Regions from separate parts of the Homo sapiens genome. Here regions 2, 3, 4, 5 and 6 are each linked to region 1. The links are contacts of gene promoters, found by promoter capture Hi-C in blood cells and fetal thymus (Javierre and others, 2016). All regions are on one chromosome and are shown on one strand. The core of a region is centred on a gene start or on the middle of the fragment in contact, and the rest is flanking DNA. Distances in the headings are between cores, read along the strand shown.

Region 1 (2,700 bases), core at 131-2,630:
TGAGCCCAGGAGCTCAAGACCAGCCTGGGCAACATGGGGAAACCACTCCCCGACCCTCGAGGCAGGCGGATCACTTGAGGTCAGGAGTTGGAGACCAGCCTGACCAACAGGGTGAAACTCCGTCTTTACTAAAAATACAAAAATTAGCCAAGCATGGTGGCGCATGACTGTAATCCCAGCTACTCGGGAGGCTGGCTGAGGCAGGCGGATGGGATCGCTTGAGCCTGGGAGGTCGCTGTGTTGGCACCTAGTGGTGACAGAGCTAGACCCTATCTCAAAAAACAAAACAAAAGTTGCCAGAAGCCATGGAGCTACCGTTTAGGTAGGAAGTTGTTGGGGGCAGGGATTTCCGCTGAAGCAGCCCAGGTCCAGAACCCCTTTCTCTTAACCATGAGGCTGCTTCTTGAAGTCATACTGCGTCTTTTTCACAAAGATTAGTAAAAGTTGTCCCGATGGTCTTGTCTTTAAATCTCTCAACTCACAGATTTTACTTGTTAGCGTAATTTATCACATCAGCTCTTCCTCGCTTCAAGTAAGTTGCAGATAAATTCCAAATTTGTTATACTGCATTTAAGATAAATTTAGGAACTTTTAGGTTTTTTTCTTTTTTGTTGGTAGGAAACGCAACTTATAACCTCACAAATTCTCCCTTGGGGTTCAACAACACAGCGGTACATTTCATATGCAACCATGCACCTGAAATGAAGACGTGAAAACGTTAATCTCCTTTTGGTGGAAAACCCAGAGAAGCCCACAGTAAAAATGTATTTTCAGGGAAAGCTGCGATTAAATGTATCAGGATCGTCTCGGACACAGATAAGGAGACAATCACTGTTTTCTTAAGTGAATTATTGTGCCCTCTGGAAGCACATTATATTGAGTGGAAAGAGAACTGACAGAGGTGGAAAGCTGTTTTGAAAAAAATTGAAACGTGTAGATAATGTCTTTTCTCTATGTTTTGATTACGCTGTGTTGGCGGATGTGTGGGGTTTAATAATTAGGCGAAAAACTCTCCATCCTTCACCCCATCCAATCCCCGAAAACAATTTGGGGATTTAAAAAATCGCCTTTCCGTATCTTCCTCTTCTGTCTCCACTATTCCGCTTTCCTTTAGATTTTCCAAGATCCTCGATACTTGTAGTAAACTACCTTCCTACACATTCGCAGGAATCTTGCAGCTCCCTAATCAGTGAATTTTCTTTCTTTCTTTCTTTCTTTCTTTTTTTTTTTTTTTTTTTTAATGAAAGGAAAACGCCTTGGAGATCGCGCGTTTCGAAAGCGCGTTTTCGTTTTCTCTCCTGGGCGGGTTATGGCCCTACCGGGGCGCCGTAGCCGGCCCGCGCGTGCCCAGTCTTGGCGAAGAGTAGCGGTAGGTCGGCGGGACTTCCGTGTTGGCGGGATTCTGAACGCTGCCATGGCTCAGACCGTGCAGAATGTTACATTGTCGCTCACTCTGCCCATCACGTGCCACATTTGCTTGGGGAAGGTAATGGGTGATTGTGGGCACAGCTACAAAACGGGGTTGGATAAGTCGCTCGCCGGGGCCGAGGGCCGTCTCGTGCGGGGGCGGGGAAGGGGCGTGAGGCGCGGAGATGGGAGAAAACGCTAACCCGCGTTCTTGATGGGAGGCCGCGTCCTGGGAGATGGGGGTAGCGCACCGTGATTAATGGATTCATCTGGGCGCCTTTCGGAGGAGGGTGACAGCGGCCCGTGGTCTGCCGGGAGGGCGGCGAGACGGCCCTGCCACCGCCCGCGGCCTCACACTGGCAAGACACCGGCCTCGAAGGAGGCCCCATCAGAAACGCATCGCAGGGATATTTAACTTCCCTCTGCAGCCTCGCGTGGCGTGTAGTGAAGCCCATTAAAACACATTTCCTGGGAGCCTCACCTCGGGCTTCTTAGTCCTCTGTAACTAGTGTTCATCCTCTGGGGCCTACGGTGCTGTGTATTGAGTCTTTTCCATTTCCAAGACCTTTTGCCTTTATCCTGGCCTTGAGGATGACCTTTGCTCTGAATTCCTAATTTGAAAAGTAAATAGTAAGTGCTCCTGGAGGGTATTAGAATAAGAGGTGTGGCTTTTAACTCCAAGAATGGGTCAGTCAGGAGATAGAATACTCTCTCTTTGTGATGCAAGAGGTGCCTAGTGTGTTTGTGAAACAAGGTAGGGAAAGTGGTTCTGAATTAGAAACGGAGCTTTGAATATTCTAATGCATTCCTCTCCTCTTTCATTTCCATTTGTGCCTCACTTTCGGTGTTTTAAAGAGCATTTCTTTACCGAATAGATAAAGAAGGGGAAAGATAAACCACCAACTTTTTTCCACCCTGAATTATTTTTACGTCTGTGGTGTGTCAGGGTGTGTGTTTACCCCCCAGCGCAGACTGAGCCGTAGACTCAGATTTGAGAAATACAAACTTCTAGAGCAAGCATTTGAGTGCCGGCCAATACGATCTGCCTGGGGTGTTTGAAGTTCTGTGTGAATTTACTGGATTCAAAAAGTAGAAGAAAGTCAGCATTGGAAGCAACTGATAATTCTGGATAGCAGTCAGAATGAAATGCCAATGAAATAGCAAATGTGCTGGGAGATCATGGATTGGGGATGGCTTGATCAATTTGGAGAGATCAAGGATGGCCTCATCGAGGATGGTGTTTGAGCTGGCATTGAGCTATTACTTACTGCCTGCACGGCTAGGGGGAGGGAA
Region 2 (2,700 bases), core at 12-2,511, 530 kb before region 1:
AGACTGCAGTGAGGAAGGGGGCAGGGAGAGGCTGGAGTGACACTAACATGTTTGTTTCATAGGAAGAAAACATAAGAAATAAAGAAGAGCAGAGCATTCCCTTCCAACAAGTTCCTCCACTTAATTTCTTCTTTTTCTAAAATGGAATTCAGTATCAGCATAGATGGCATTGCCTTTCAGTTCTTTTATCTTTAACTTTGTTTTGCCCTGTGTTTTCGGCTTTGAACTTCCTCATAAGTGTGACAAGCCTAACTCTATCCCTCTTTGATTGCAGAAGTCTCATCTTTAGTTGTTGTTGTTGTTTTTCTTATGGTGGGACCTATTTCTTGAAGCACTATACAGAAGAGGATAGGAACAAGAAGTGCTAGAGTTGTTGGTGCTATTGCCAACTTCTGCTTTGGCACCATTGAGCTCTCTGCTGTTCAGAGGTTGATTCTGTCAGGTATAATGCAGATATGCTCACATCTTAGCACAGTGAATGCGAAAGCAATGGCTTGTTTACTTGGTTTCTGCATTGCAGTGTGGCTGGAGTGTGTTGAATTATTATTGCATTTGTTTTAGGGAGTCACCTCCCTTGTTGTTCACTTCCCTCTACATAACATTTCCTCTGCGAGGTTTACTGGCACTGCAGGAACTGAAAAAATGAAGTAAATGGCTCTCTAGAGAAATCTTTCTAGGAGGTGTGAACCACCTGGAGTCTGTAAATGCTTGAAATTTGGTTCTCAACAGGAAAGAAAATCAATGTAAGATAGAAATATAATGAAAAAAACACTTTTTTCCAGTAGGTAAATTTGGATTGGTGACAATTAGGTGTTCTGATCATCAGATTTCATAATCTGGATTGATTTGTAGAGAAATTTAAAAACCATCAGTTGTTACAATGCTATGAATACGTAAGAATACCAGGAGAGGGTATTCTAATCTACATGAAAGCCAATGCCATCGATGCTAATTTGTTTTCTGTTTTGCTCATGACACAACAAAGCGGCTGAATATAGTTTTTTGCTGTTGTTGTCACTCATCTTTCAAAGGAAAGAATACTGATAGTTTCAACATCATACTTTTAAAAAGTAACTTCTGCATAGATGGTACATATTGATTAAGCACACAGAGCAGTGCCTGGCAGACAGTGAGCACTGCATGAGGACTTTGTTAAATAAGTAAAATGTTAGAGTAAATTAAACCACCTTTGCCAAAATTCACAAATGACTTAGCATTGATCATTTACAAACCAGGTGATCTTCCCTGTGTTTCATATTTTAAAGCAGCAGGGTCTCTTCTGCTACTCTCCAATAATATCAATTAATACCCTCACAAATAGCCTTCTAAAGTTATCCAAACTTAGAAACCAATGTAAATGTAAGGAAATTATAGAGAAGACTAATGAGAATTTATATATTGATTAACAAAGGATTATGGTAAGTTAACTAAAGGCAAAGTGATTTAATTAATTTGTTTTTATTTATTATTATTTTTTTGAAGACAGGGTCTGTCTCTGTTGCCAAGGCTGGAGTGCAGTGGCAATATCTCAGCTCACTGCAACCTCCACCTCCTGGGTTCAAGCCATCCTCCCACCTCAGCCTCCTAAGTAGCTAGGACCACAGATGCACACCATCATACCCAGCTATTTTTAAAAAATCTTTTGTAGAGGTGGGGTTTCACCATGTTGTCCAGGCTAGTCTTCAACTTCTAAGCTCAAGAGATCTGCCCACCTCGGCCTCCCAAAGTGCTGGGATTACAGGCATGAGTCACTGTGTCTGGCTGTAATTTAATTTATAAACAAAAAATGTCACTGTTAATTCTAGAAAGAGTCAGTTATAACATTACTTACATTTGTCAAATTCAAGAATGGAAGAGAACAATGTATGTTGCTGTCCTGTGATAGATTTCTCTGTGGAAATCAGTCCCACCACTTTGGGTCCATGGGCTATATGAAACAAATGAACCAAAGGCCTTAGAACCTTGAGGTTTGGCTAATTTGCCCATATTTATACAATGTATAGAGGTTGTTTCTACTCTGTGTAAGGTTCTATACTAGTAATCTTATAAACAAAGACCAATATAAGGAGAGAGGAGATGGTTTGTAGTCTACTGTGTTTTGTGAAAGTTTGGGATGTAGTTCATTTGGACAATGCTTAGAATTTCATTTTGAAACATTTTCAGTTATAGCATGTTTAATTGGTTCTTTAAAATCTCTTCTTAAAGGATCCTGAAACTTAAAGAGGGGGAATGCTTATATTTTGTATAAACAAAAGTGGTGGCTCTATGATAATAGGAATCATTTGAAGATGTGTTGTTTAGAAGGTGATAAATAAAAAAGTTGTGATGAGAGAAAACATGGAAGAAGGAAAAAGCATAAAAGGTAAGTTTGGCAGTGTCCTGCCTACCAAGGAGAAATTCGACTTGGTAAGAGCATATTTTGACTTTGGGAGGCCAAGGTGGATGGGTTGCTTGACCCTAGGAGGTCGAGACCAGCCTGGGCAACATGGCGAAAACAAAAAACAAACAAACAAACAAAAACAAACAATTAACAAAACCAAAAATTAGCTGGGCATGGTGGCATATGCCTGTAGTCCCAGCTACTTGGAAGGCTGAAGTTGGAGGATCGTCTGAGCCCAGGAGGCGTAGATTGCAGTGAGCTGAGATTGTAACCAGCCGGGGCAACAGAGCAAGATATTGTCTCACCCTCCTCTGCCCCAC
Region 3 (2,700 bases), core at 125-2,624, 670 kb before region 1:
TAAAATACATATTTAGTCACCAAGTGGAATGTCAAATTGTGCTGTCGTGAGATACCAGGGATTCTCCTTTCTTTCTTTTTCATAGTAGATAGGGCCACTCCACTACCCATTATTCTTTTTTTTCAGCTGACCCAAAACAGGATCTGCTTTGGCAGAATGAGTGGTGAGGGATAAGGTACAAGCAGTTCTAATGTCTGCCCATCTTAGCCATTCCTCATCTACTGCTTCCTGGTCTCATCAGGTTGAACTCTAAAAGAAGTGTCCCTAGTTCAGCATAGCCCCAACTAGACTTCTATGACTTTTTGCCTAAGACATGGTCTATACCTCTAACTTTGAGGGTACTCTTAGTAAAGTTACCTTAAACTATCAATCTTGAATTGTCTTTCCAAGGACTGACCGGAATATCTGCAACCTTGTCTTTCATTTGGGTTTCAAAGATTAAAAAAAAAGGAAAATGGGAGTGAGGTGTAGGGGATTCATAGGAGCCTTTTTTGCCCTGTGTGTTCTTTCTTCAGGAATTGTAGAGAAGACAGTGTCACTGTTTTGTCCTTGCCATTGTTCCAGGGATGAAATAGTTTTCCAAATGAAAGCAATGAAAGAGTGAGATGCTTTTCAGAAGTTTTAAGTTGATTTCAACTTAAATAAGTTTTGAAAAAACCTCTACATTTATTTATCCTCTTTGTAGTGAATGTTCTCTGCCAGCACAGTGGTACATTGCTTACCTGGTAGAAGTTGCCCTTGGGGCATTGTAACCATAAGACTATGGGTCTGATAAGTCATTCAACTGGAGCCTTGAAAAAATCTAGTTTTGGGGGTAGAGGTAGGGGGTAGTATATTATTTTATAAAATAGGAATTCCTGATCTTAGGGTGTTCTCTTTTTAAAGCTAGCTTTGAATAATCATTTCTTTAATGTTCTTTTGTGAAAGTAAAAAGTAATTTAAAATTGATGAGATTTTAAAACTCATAAGCTTGTATGTGTGTATGTTATATTGAAAAAGGTAGATCTTTGATTAAATGTTCTCTCCAGGGTATTGTTAAGTGCAAGTTTAGAGTAAGCTTCCTTTCAGTGGTGGCTTCAGTTGATAATTTTTAGTCTCTTGCTAGATAGGTAGTTTTATGTTTTATGTATTTTCTAGGGAATAGTGGTATTATAAAATAATGATAGTTGTTACTGTACAAATGGTTCAGATATTGCCAAATTTGTGGATTTATTAAGAACTTTAAATATGTACTACTTCCCTTGCTTGCTTATATGGCTGAGAAAAAATTAAAACCTCTTCTTAAATAATTTTTGGAAATTTTGCTCGCGGAAAGACTTTTGACACGTACCTTCTTTCTTGGGTCTTGCTTTTTGTACCTTAGGCGTGTATACAATGTATTTTTCAAAATTAATAACAATAAAAAATACCAGGGATTAATGTATAAGGAAGACTTTAGCACTGAATTACATGAAGGTTGAATAAGTGACAGAATAACTAAGGCCAAGTTAGGTCTAATGAGAATTACCTATTTAGAGGAAATAGCTTTAGTTGGATTTACTTAATAGACTAAAAAGAGTAATGACCACTGCTATGATAAATGTTTAGATTTTTAGTTACAAAAGTTGTTAAAGCATAAGCATATCCTTAAGCCAGAAAGTTTCTTAAAATTTTGTAATGTTGAAAAGAATAGAAAATTAAGTTGAAGCTTATCTTATACAAGCAGGATACATATAGAGCAGTGGTCTTCAAACTTTTGGATTTCAGGGAACAGTAAAGTTTAGGAATTTAAAAATTTGTGTGTTTGTCATAGAGGTATCAACTTTTTATTTTGCCAGGGAAGAATACTTTAAAAATACAAAAAGATTGTCATGTTCTATCACCATTGTTATATAAAATAAAGGAAATTTTAACACTGAAAATGTAGGAGAACATGAACTCGCAGTAAAGGATAGGCCTTCCCAAGAAAAAACTGTCAGCCCTTGCCAATGTTTACTGTCAAACATTACATTGTTCTTGTTTTCTGGACCATTATCCTAGATGACTGAATGAATTTATTTTCTATAATCAATAGATGCATAGTATTTCAAGATGAAAGTACAAGAATAAATAAGGTAATTGAGACATTCAGATATAACTGAAAAGTGAGAAGTTTTCCTCAGGAAAAATATTGAAGCATTTTAAAGACCATCAGTATAAGCAGAACACTGTTAGCTTTAGGTTAAGATGGTTTATGGTTTGACTCTGCCTTGTTACCTAGAAGATGGTTCCTATTACCTTATTTTCTATTTTTTTGTCTATCACCATGCCAAAGTACTAAAGTTGGATAAGTACTCAGACAAGAGTAAAGCAGTCGTCTCTTCCATGACTGATTTGAATATTATCTTTTCTGCACTGAATTGTTACTGTACCTTTGTAGGAGCCCAAGATCCTGTTCAGAATAGGAATAATTAAGTTGCTGTTTTAGAAGAATCAGAACAAAAATGAAACCTATAGTCCCAAACTCACAGAGGTACAATTTTTTTTTTTTTTTGAGGCGGAGTCTCGCTGTGTTGCCCAGGCTGGAGTGCAGTGGTGTGATCTCAGCTCACTGCAAGCTCCGCCTCTCTTGGCTTCATGCCATTCTCCTGCCTCAGCCTCCCGAGTAGCTGGGACTAGAGGTGCCTGCCACCACGCCCAGTTAATTTTTTTTTTTTTTTTTTTTGTATTTTTAGTAGAGAC
Region 4 (2,700 bases), core at 180-2,679, 520 kb after region 1:
GAAGGAAGGAAGGAAGGAAGGAAGGAAGGAAGGAAGGAAGGAAGGAAGGAAGGAAGGAAAAGGAAAGGAAAGAAAGGAAAGAAAAGAAAAGAAAAGAAAAGAAAAAAGAAAAGAAAAGAAAAGAAAAAGAAAAGAAAAGAAAAGAAAAGAAAAGAAAAAAGGGGCAACCCTTCCAGGCCTAACTTTATGTCTTGGGCCTCATGGCATGGCTTCCCTGTTGGATGTATATTTGATTATCAATATCCCAAGAACCAGAGCCCTAATTCATACACTTACATTCTGCCTATGGTTAACCTCCTTGACTCTGCAACTAGACATTCTCCTTCTAACTCATCTTTAGATTTTTACTAAAGCAATATTGTTATATTTTATATAGCATTTCACAAGTTTTAGTGGAAAGTGGCTCACATTGCGTCAGTCTGCCATATTGCTGGAACTCAAGTATTTTCCTGTCTATGTATACTGTTTCATATAGCTGAAATAGTATACCACATCCTCACACCAAATTCTCCCTAAATTAGAGTAAAAAATAAGTTCTGTCATTCAAACCCTTCAAAGCTTCCAGGGTTAAACTCCTGCTCCATCTGTTCTTTTACTTAGAGACATCCAGCACTACCATCTGTTTTGAACATGTTTTATAGTAAGTGTTGTGGCCACTGATAATTTATACTTATTAAGAATCATTATAATATAAAAATACCGAAATGTAGAAATAACTCACTTAACATTCTTACAACAAGGCACTCACCACGCAGTTGTAGAGAGCTGTAGAGTATTATATTGAAATCCATGAACTCAATATTTTAGATCTGAAAACTACCTTAGAAACCATTTGCAGTAACCAACTCTTTTAATTGAGAAAACTAGGCCCTAAGAGTTCAAGAACAACATCCTAAGGTCTCTGCAAAACCTCTAGCAAAATGGCACCAAGGCACTGTGTACTGTTCAGAGTCAACTCAACACTCCAAAGTAAAATAAGTATCCAGATAATCTCCTTGTTAAACTTATTAATAAACCTTAAGGTGACTATCTGGAATGAACAGTTATTAGCTGGGTAGGGTGATGCATGCCTATACTCCCAGCACTTTGGGAGGTCGAGGTAGGAGGATGACTGGAGCCCAGAAGTTCAAGACCAGCCTGGGCAACATGGCGAGACCTTGTCTCTACAAAAAATAAAAATACAAATTTTAGCTGGGCGTCGTGGCTTGCACCTGTAGTCCTAGCTACTCCTGAGGCTAGGTGGGAGGATCCCTTGAGTCCAGGTGTTCAAGGCCACAGTGAGCCATGATTGTGCCACTGCACTCCAGCCTGGGTGACAGAACAGAACCCTGCCTCTAAAAAAAAAAAAAAAATTGTCTATGTAACTTATGACACTTTTCATTTTAATGTTGTAATATGTTAGAGTCCACTCACATTGTCTGTAGTTCTAACAGTTCCATAATTTACTTTTAAAATTTCAACATAATTAATGGAATCCTGACTAATGCCAAATAATAATGGTTTGTAAATGAATACAAACCATTTTGCAGCTACAGGTGTAAATGTTTTATCAACATTTTATTATGTTGCTAAAATCTCTGAATATATGAACCACATAAATTTTTTCTTCCTCATTTTATTCTTTGTTTTACTTTTATGTCACTTGTGTTTCTTTTTTAAGTTTTATTTATTCCAATGTGGATTTTATGGGAACACAGAATGTTTTGAAGGTGGCTTGACAAGCTAGAGCAGTACGTTTTGCTGGAAATGGTACTTTAACCCCTATTGCCCTGCCACAAGAAGATCATGGATCTCAGTGAGAGACGTTTTTGTTCACAAGGATCTCAGGATATTTTATCTTTTCCACCAAGTGACTTGATCTTTTTTTCTAGAGAATTTGAAGATAATTTGTTAAAATTTTTTATTGGTAACTTTTTGTCTGTAGACAAATGTAAAAACCCTGTACACATTTTCCTAGTATGTCAGAAATATAGATGTAATATTAGCAACAAGGTTTAAATAGATTGACTCTTAATTCTGAGTATCTGAAAAGAATACATAAACAATGATTTTCCCAAGGGCCAATGCTAATGTTGGGTTAGAATGACAATCTAAAATTCATTTGGTATTTAGATTAGGGTAGATATTAGTTCCTCCCACAAACACATAACCCCCTGGCAGGCATTTTGAATTTACACTCATTCAAGAGGTGATATTTAAGATGTGATGTTTTCAAAAACTGGCACAAACATTAGATAACTACTATGTCAAAAGACACATTGATATTAAAATGCTACAGGAGGTCTGGCTCTCCAAGCTTTGGTTTTGGTAAGCAGTACATGCCAGATGTTTCAGAGAAAAGCATAAAATCTACATTATGTGCCTAATTGTACTATATTACATAAGAGGGACGGAGATTTTTTCTTTCCCCTGACTGCAGCTGGTGATAACAATATGCCCCGGAGCATGAAAGAATCAGGCACCCTGAATACAGGGGCAGCTCTTCACTGTGCTTCTTCTGGAAGGGTGGGGAAAAATTTTAGCTTCAAAAATCTCCACATACACAGACAATAGCAAATACTCCTAATATAACAAGGTATATGGATAGGGATTAAACTACTCGACCAATCAGAGTAGACCTCTACTGTAGGGAATGAATTGGAGAAAGAACTTGGCAGTAAATCCTATACTATTGCAGATCTACACACTATGGATAAACTA
Region 5 (2,700 bases), core at 124-2,623, 820 kb before region 1:
TGTTTTTCTCCTCTCCCTCAGTAAATGGGCTGAAAGTTTGTAGAATGACATGCTACCTAGCTGCAACAGCACAACAGCAGAGTCAACTATTGCTCAGTCCATCTTTAACTAAGGTTTACAACAGGAATCTCCAACGTCACCACCAGAATACACAAAGAAAAATATATTTAAAAATTGACACTGAAAATATAGAGGAACACATTTCACTTTTTTCAACATAGTTACCAAAGTTTACACAGTTAAGCTGGAAAACCTTGTATTTAACGAAAAATAATTTTTCAAACAAGATTAGAATTTGTTCTACTAAAACTACCTCTGTTTCCCCTCTAACCAAAAAAAAAAAAAAAAAAAAAAAAAAGAAAGAAAGAAAGAAAGAAAAAGTGGGGATTACCAAAAAATACAGTCATTTTTAATACTAACATAATGGAAAAGGACAAAATGACAAGGTTAACGAGCAGAGAGACAAGATCAGCATTATGGCTAGTCTTTCTCTACAGTTCCACAATTCCTAACCCACATTTTTGCCAAATCCACATCCCACCCCACGCAGTACTTACACCTCCACCCACCTACTCACCCACCCCATTTATGACGGCGATCACCTTCCGGGCAGGTATGTGAAGTCAGCCCCATTTCCAGTAGACAATCGACTAGAATGTCTCAGGAGTGACTGAGTCAGAGAATAAGAAAATGATAAAGTGAGAAATTAAAACGGATACAAGTTGTAAGGTGTGTGGAGGGAGGGCGTCTCACAGCGGGGCTAAGGGTGCGGGTGAGGAGCTAAGCAGACTTGGGGCGAGAGAGAAGGGTTTCGAAGGAGTCCTAGGCAGGAGTGCGCAGGTGAGGCGAGTGAAGCAGCTCCAGCCAGAAGATCCAAAAAAACAAAACAAAACACAACAAAAAAAAGCCACAGCTTTTCCTCCGGGAATAACCTGAGGAAAGGGACTCTCGGGACGCCGCGGCGGGAGGCAGTCCCGGGAGGCACAGGAGGCCGGGAACTCACCACCTGGTAGCGCCCAGTCCCCGGCTGGTGGTGATCCATCCTGCCCGGCTCGGGATCCGGCTTCCGAGAGAGGGAGTCTTCTCCGTGCTCAGCTCCCACGGCCACCCCCGTCGACGACGTCGTCGCCGCAGGGCCCCTTCCGCCTCCGTTCCTGCAGCCGCGGTCTCCCGGCGGAAGCTCTTCACTTCCTGTGGCTCCCGCAGCGGCCGCCGAGACCTCCGCGTTGGTCGCGGTTCCGCGGAGAAGCTCCGGGGCGCCGCGCGCGCTATTGAGCATGCTCGGACCGCTCGCGCAGACTCGCTGGCTCCGCCGGCGTGCCATCCGCGCCGCCAGTGGGAGGGTATAGCTGGGTGGGAGGAGATGGAAAAGTAAGGCAAGTCCGGGGGAGCTGTCTAGGTTGTCAACCTGTCGAGTGGGCGGTCGCAAAAGGCGCGCGGGGGGCGGGAATGACCCGTCCTTGATTGGTCTTTTCTGTGTGCGCGAGTTTCGCGCAGGCACGAGCCAGTGCGCCTTCTCACCACACAGAGACAGAGGCTGACAAGGGATGGGGCCGCGTTCCTAGAACACCTGAGGACAGGTCGCCCGGGTACCCGACACTTCCTCACCCAGCGTAGGACATGGGGAGGAGATTCATCTCTAGAACATTCCCAAAACGCTTATTCAAAATCATTCGTAAGATAAGCGATTTTTTAAAGACTAATATAGAGTAGTTAGAGTTTACAGAAAAATTGAGAAGTTACAGAGATATCCCATATACACTTGGCTCCTACGCATGCATAACCCCCCACCATTATCAACATCCCCCCTCAGAGTGGTACATGTGTTACGACTGATGAACCTGCATTGACACCTCATCATCACTCAAAGTCCATAGTTACCTCAGGGTTCACTCAGGTTGTTGTATACTCCTCGAGTTAGAACAAATGTGTAATGGCAGGTATCCATCATTATAGTATCCTACAGAGTATTTCCACTGCCCTGAAATTCTTCTGTGGGGTAATTTTTGTTTTTGTTTGTTGTTTTTTTAGAGATGGGGTCTCACTATATTGCCCAGACTGGAGTGCAGTGGCTGTTAGCAGGCGCAGTCATGGCTCACTGTAGCCTCGAACTCCTCGGCCCAAGCTATCCACCTGCCTCAGCCTCTGGAGTAGCTGAGACTACAGGCACTAGCTCTTTGGTTACTTTTTAAACTCTTTTTTCCACTTTTTGGTAATAAGAGATTTAAAAATCCAACGGACTCTCCAGACAACTCTCAAAGAAAGAGGTCTCTAGAGTTCTAGGTTACTGGAAGGACGTTAGAAGAAAGTAATGAAATCAGATAGGATTATTTTGTGGTAATACTCAATAATTCCAATTGATTTAACAGCAAGGAATCACTTGGGAGCACTGTTAGTAGTATCTCACTGTCTGGTTAACCACACATGACACGGCATAAAGCATATTTCTCTAGCAAGTAGAAGAGTATGACAGAGCAGCGAAAAGTACCTTTTAACCTGAAGACCAACGTTCTATACCCTAAAAACTATGATGCTGCTTGATGTGGCCCAGCTATGTTTTTAACATAACACCACATTTTCCCTAAATGATCTTACAGTGGAGCGCCCTGAAGGGAAGGAAAGGGATCTGGAGCCCCATTTATTTCCTTCATGAATGTCCAGAGGAGATCCTTGAAATGAAGACTGCCACTGGGTGAGCCT
Region 6 (2,700 bases), core at 146-2,645, 750 kb before region 1:
GCGGATGGGCATGGGGGAGAGGGTTTTCCCTGAGAACAGTGTAACTTCAACTTGAAAGCTGAGGTGAACCTAGAAAGAGTTAACAACTGGAAGCTGTCAGGTAACTATCCTCCTTGCAGTTGGGCAGTGAGTCCTTTCTTGAAGGGAGATCTGAGCTGCACACCTCTGTGACTGCTATACACTGTAGGATGTCAATTCAATCCAAATTAATCCATAACTTCAATGATGAAGAATTTTTTGTTTACAAGTTCAACAATCTTGTTCTATGTATTTGGAAACTAAAGGTTCACATTTATTTATTTATTTATTTATTTATTTATTTATTTAGACGTAGTTTCACTCTGTCGCCAAGGCTGGAGTACAGTGGCTCAATCTCGGCTCACCGACAACTCCACTTCCCAGGTTCAAGCGATTCTCCCACCTCAGCCTCTGGGCTGGGTACTACAGGTGTGTGCCAACACACCTGGCTAATTTTTGTATTTTTAGTAGAGATGGGGTTTCACCATGTTGGCCAGGCCGGTCTTGAACTCCTGACCTCAAGTGATCCGCCTGCCTCGGCCTCCCAAAGTGCTGGGGTTATAGGTGTGAGCCACTGTGCCAGACCAAGATTCATATTTAGCCAAGCTAAATTTGAAAAAGAGCAAAGAAGAGGGATTTGCCTTATTATATATTAAGATATTCTATAATACAATAGTAAATAAAAGCAACATAGTACTGGAGTAGTCACAGACAAGCTGACCAATTGAAAAATAGGTCAGAAGCAGAACACAAATGAAATGAAAACAGAAAGATATAAGTGGCATCAAAAATCAAACAGGAAGGAAGCTAGGCACGGTGGCTCACGCCTGTAATCCCAACACTTTAGGAGGCCGAGGCGGGCCGATCACTTGAGGCCAGGAGTTCAAGAATAGCATGGCCAACATGGTGAAACGCCCTCTCTAATTAGATGGGCATGGTGGTGCACACCTATAGTCCCAGCTACTTGGGAGGCTGAGGTAGAACTGCTTGAACCTGGGAGGCAGAGGTTGCAGTGAGCCAAGATTGCGCCACTGCACTCCAGCATTGGAGATGGTGTCAGACTCTGTCCCAGGAAAAAAAAAAAAAAAAAAAGAAAAAAATCAACAGGAAAGAATAAACTGAGTGAGTAGACTTATAGAAAAAAAAAATGGCCTAGATCCTCACTTTACACCACAAACAGGGATGTATTACAGAGAGAATAAATACTTAAGTGTGATTCTAAGTAGAGTAATGGACTGCAAAAGAAATAGAAGAAAATACAGAATCTCTTTTTGATCCGGAAATGCTGACTGTTTTTAAACAAGACTTCAAAAGCACTATTGAGAGTAGTAAGACTGTATTCAACTAGAGGAGAGAGCTGGAAAAACCTGAGGAGGAGTTCAGCACACTATAGAGAATATTCCTGGGATTGGTGCAGCTAAAAGATGAAGGCAACTTATGGTAATAAACCATAAAGAAATACAGATCTGTTAGAGGGCATATCATTCTCTTGCCTATCTAAAATATTTTCTCCTGCCTCTGCTTCCTTCCTATTTAAAACGAAGCATGTGTCTTCAATAAACATTTTTTGAGTTTCAGACACTGAGTTAAGTGCAGGACGTAGAAAGAGGAATAAACTTGAGTCCAGTCCTTAAAAGAGCTCACAAGGCCGAGAAAGATGAGAAAACTAAATAAAATGTTTTATTTTTATCTGTCCTCACAATCTCTTCCCAGTAAATGTTTTAACTCCTGTTCTACAGGTAGGGAGCTAGACCTTTGTCCAGGGTATCATTGAGGTACTGACATTTGAGCAATAAGGAAAATCATTCTGGCAAAAGGAACAGTGCTAATAAAGTCACATGGCCTTGAAAGAACATGGTGTATTGGAAAACGTTAAGCAGGCAACCTGATACTGGACATTCCAAAATGTACATGTTACTGAATAGAGAAAGTAGTCCACAGCAGCTGTTTAGTCTTCTCTTAGTAGAATTGATGATTACATCAGCTAATTGTCGCCTTTGAAGGCAGGGCCAAAGAAGATGAAGCAGGGATAAATGAAGGATAAATGTTAATGGTTAAGGAAGAGAAGCATTCTAGGAAGCAAAAATGACTAACTGTGAAGTGATAATAAGCACTGTACCATAAATTTAGAGGAGGAAGATACTGCTATCAGCCACAGTGGCCAGGAAAGGTTTCATGGAAGTGGTACGGCTTCCTTTGGTCATTCAAAAAATATAGTTAATCCTTATTACTTACAGATTCTGTATTTGTGAGTTTGCCTACTTGCTAAAATTTATTTGCAATGCCCAAATCAATACTTGGAATGCTTTTGCAGTCATCTGTCGACATGAACAGAGGCAAAAAAATTTGAGTCACCTGATGCACATGTTCCCAGCTTTGGTGAAACAAGGGGATGCTCTGCCTTCCTGTTTTAGCTCTCACACTGGAAACAAGTGTCCTTTTCATGGTCTATTTAAGGCCACATTTGTTGCATTTTTGACCTTTTTGTGATTTCACTGTTTAAAATGCCCCCCAAGTGTAGTGATGAGGCTATCTGGGTCCCTAAGTGCCAGAAGGCTCTTCTTTCTTTTTAAAGAGAAAATACATACGCCAGGTAAGCATGAGTTATAGTGCCACTGGCTGTGAGTTCAATGTTAATGAATCAACTATATTAAATAAGGTGCCTTAAAAATTTTTTTTTTT

Evidence for each region. The method cuts DNA at HindIII sites, captures the fragments that hold promoters and counts their contacts. A CHiCAGO score of 5 or more calls a contact.
Region 2: a contact is called between a fragment that was not itself captured here and the fragment with the promoter of OBI1 in region 1, in 1 of 17 cell types (total B cells). The highest score is 5.1, in total B cells.
Region 3: a fragment that was not itself captured here is called in contact with the fragment with the promoter of OBI1 in region 1 in 6 of 17 cell types (total B cells, naive CD8 T cells, naive B cells and 3 more); the score reaches 8.6 in total B cells.
Region 4: a fragment that was not itself captured here is called in contact with the fragment with the promoter of OBI1 in region 1 in 1 of 17 cell types (M2 macrophages); the score reaches 6.7 in M2 macrophages.
Region 5: a contact is called between the fragment with the promoter of NDFIP2 here and the fragment with the promoter of OBI1 in region 1, in 3 of 17 cell types (non-activated CD4 T cells, naive CD8 T cells and total CD8 T cells). The highest score is 5.8, in non-activated CD4 T cells.
Region 6: a fragment that was not itself captured here is called in contact with the fragment with the promoter of OBI1 in region 1 in 7 of 17 cell types (non-activated CD4 T cells, naive CD8 T cells, total B cells and 4 more); the score reaches 8.1 in non-activated CD4 T cells.

Annotation. Positions count from the first base shown.
Region 1 is chr13:78,657,835-78,660,534 of GRCh38, reverse strand. It overlaps OBI1 (ORC ubiquitin ligase 1), which reads left to right and starts at 1,380. Exons shown (of 6, transcript NM_024546.4): 1 at 1,380-1,486. The coding sequence starts at 1,415. RefSeq lists enhancers at 2,022-2,101, 2,012-2,700. The HindIII fragment of the contact is 7,616 bases long and covers 1-2,700 here.
Region 2 is chr13:79,188,988-79,191,687 of GRCh38, reverse strand. No RefSeq gene overlaps it. Among named protein-coding and RNA genes, the nearest start is that of RBM26, 220 kb to the left of the region's middle. RefSeq lists a silencer at 636-745. The HindIII fragment of the contact is 3,275 bases long and covers 1-2,700 here.
Region 3 is chr13:79,331,448-79,334,147 of GRCh38, reverse strand. The region is part of intron 20 of RBM26 (RNA binding motif protein 26); the gene reads left to right. Among named protein-coding and RNA genes, the nearest start is that of RBM26, 73 kb to the left of the region's middle. RefSeq lists an enhancer at 2,476-2,700. The HindIII fragment of the contact is 630 bases long and covers 1,060-1,689 here.
Region 4 is chr13:78,133,416-78,136,115 of GRCh38, reverse strand. All of the region lies in intron 1 of OBI1-AS1 (OBI1 antisense RNA 1), which reads right to left. Among named protein-coding and RNA genes, the nearest start is that of OBI1-AS1, 80 kb to the right of the region's middle. The HindIII fragment of the contact is 1,738 bases long and covers 561-2,298 here.
Region 5 is chr13:79,479,828-79,482,527 of GRCh38, reverse strand. NDFIP2 (Nedd4 family interacting protein 2) reads right to left here and starts at 1,373. Exons shown (of 8, transcript NM_019080.3): 1 at 1,004-1,373. The coding sequence starts at 1,324. It overlaps NDFIP2-AS1 (NDFIP2 antisense RNA 1), which reads left to right and starts at 1,297. Exons shown (of 3, transcript NR_046685.1): 1 at 1,297-1,376; 2 at 2,598-2,692. The HindIII fragment of the contact is 10,753 bases long and covers 1-2,700 here.
Region 6 is chr13:79,409,141-79,411,840 of GRCh38, reverse strand. All of the region lies in intron 1 of RBM26-AS1 (RBM26 antisense RNA 1), which reads right to left. Among named protein-coding and RNA genes, the nearest start is that of RBM26-AS1, 4.2 kb to the right of the region's middle. The HindIII fragment of the contact is 5,354 bases long and covers 1-2,700 here.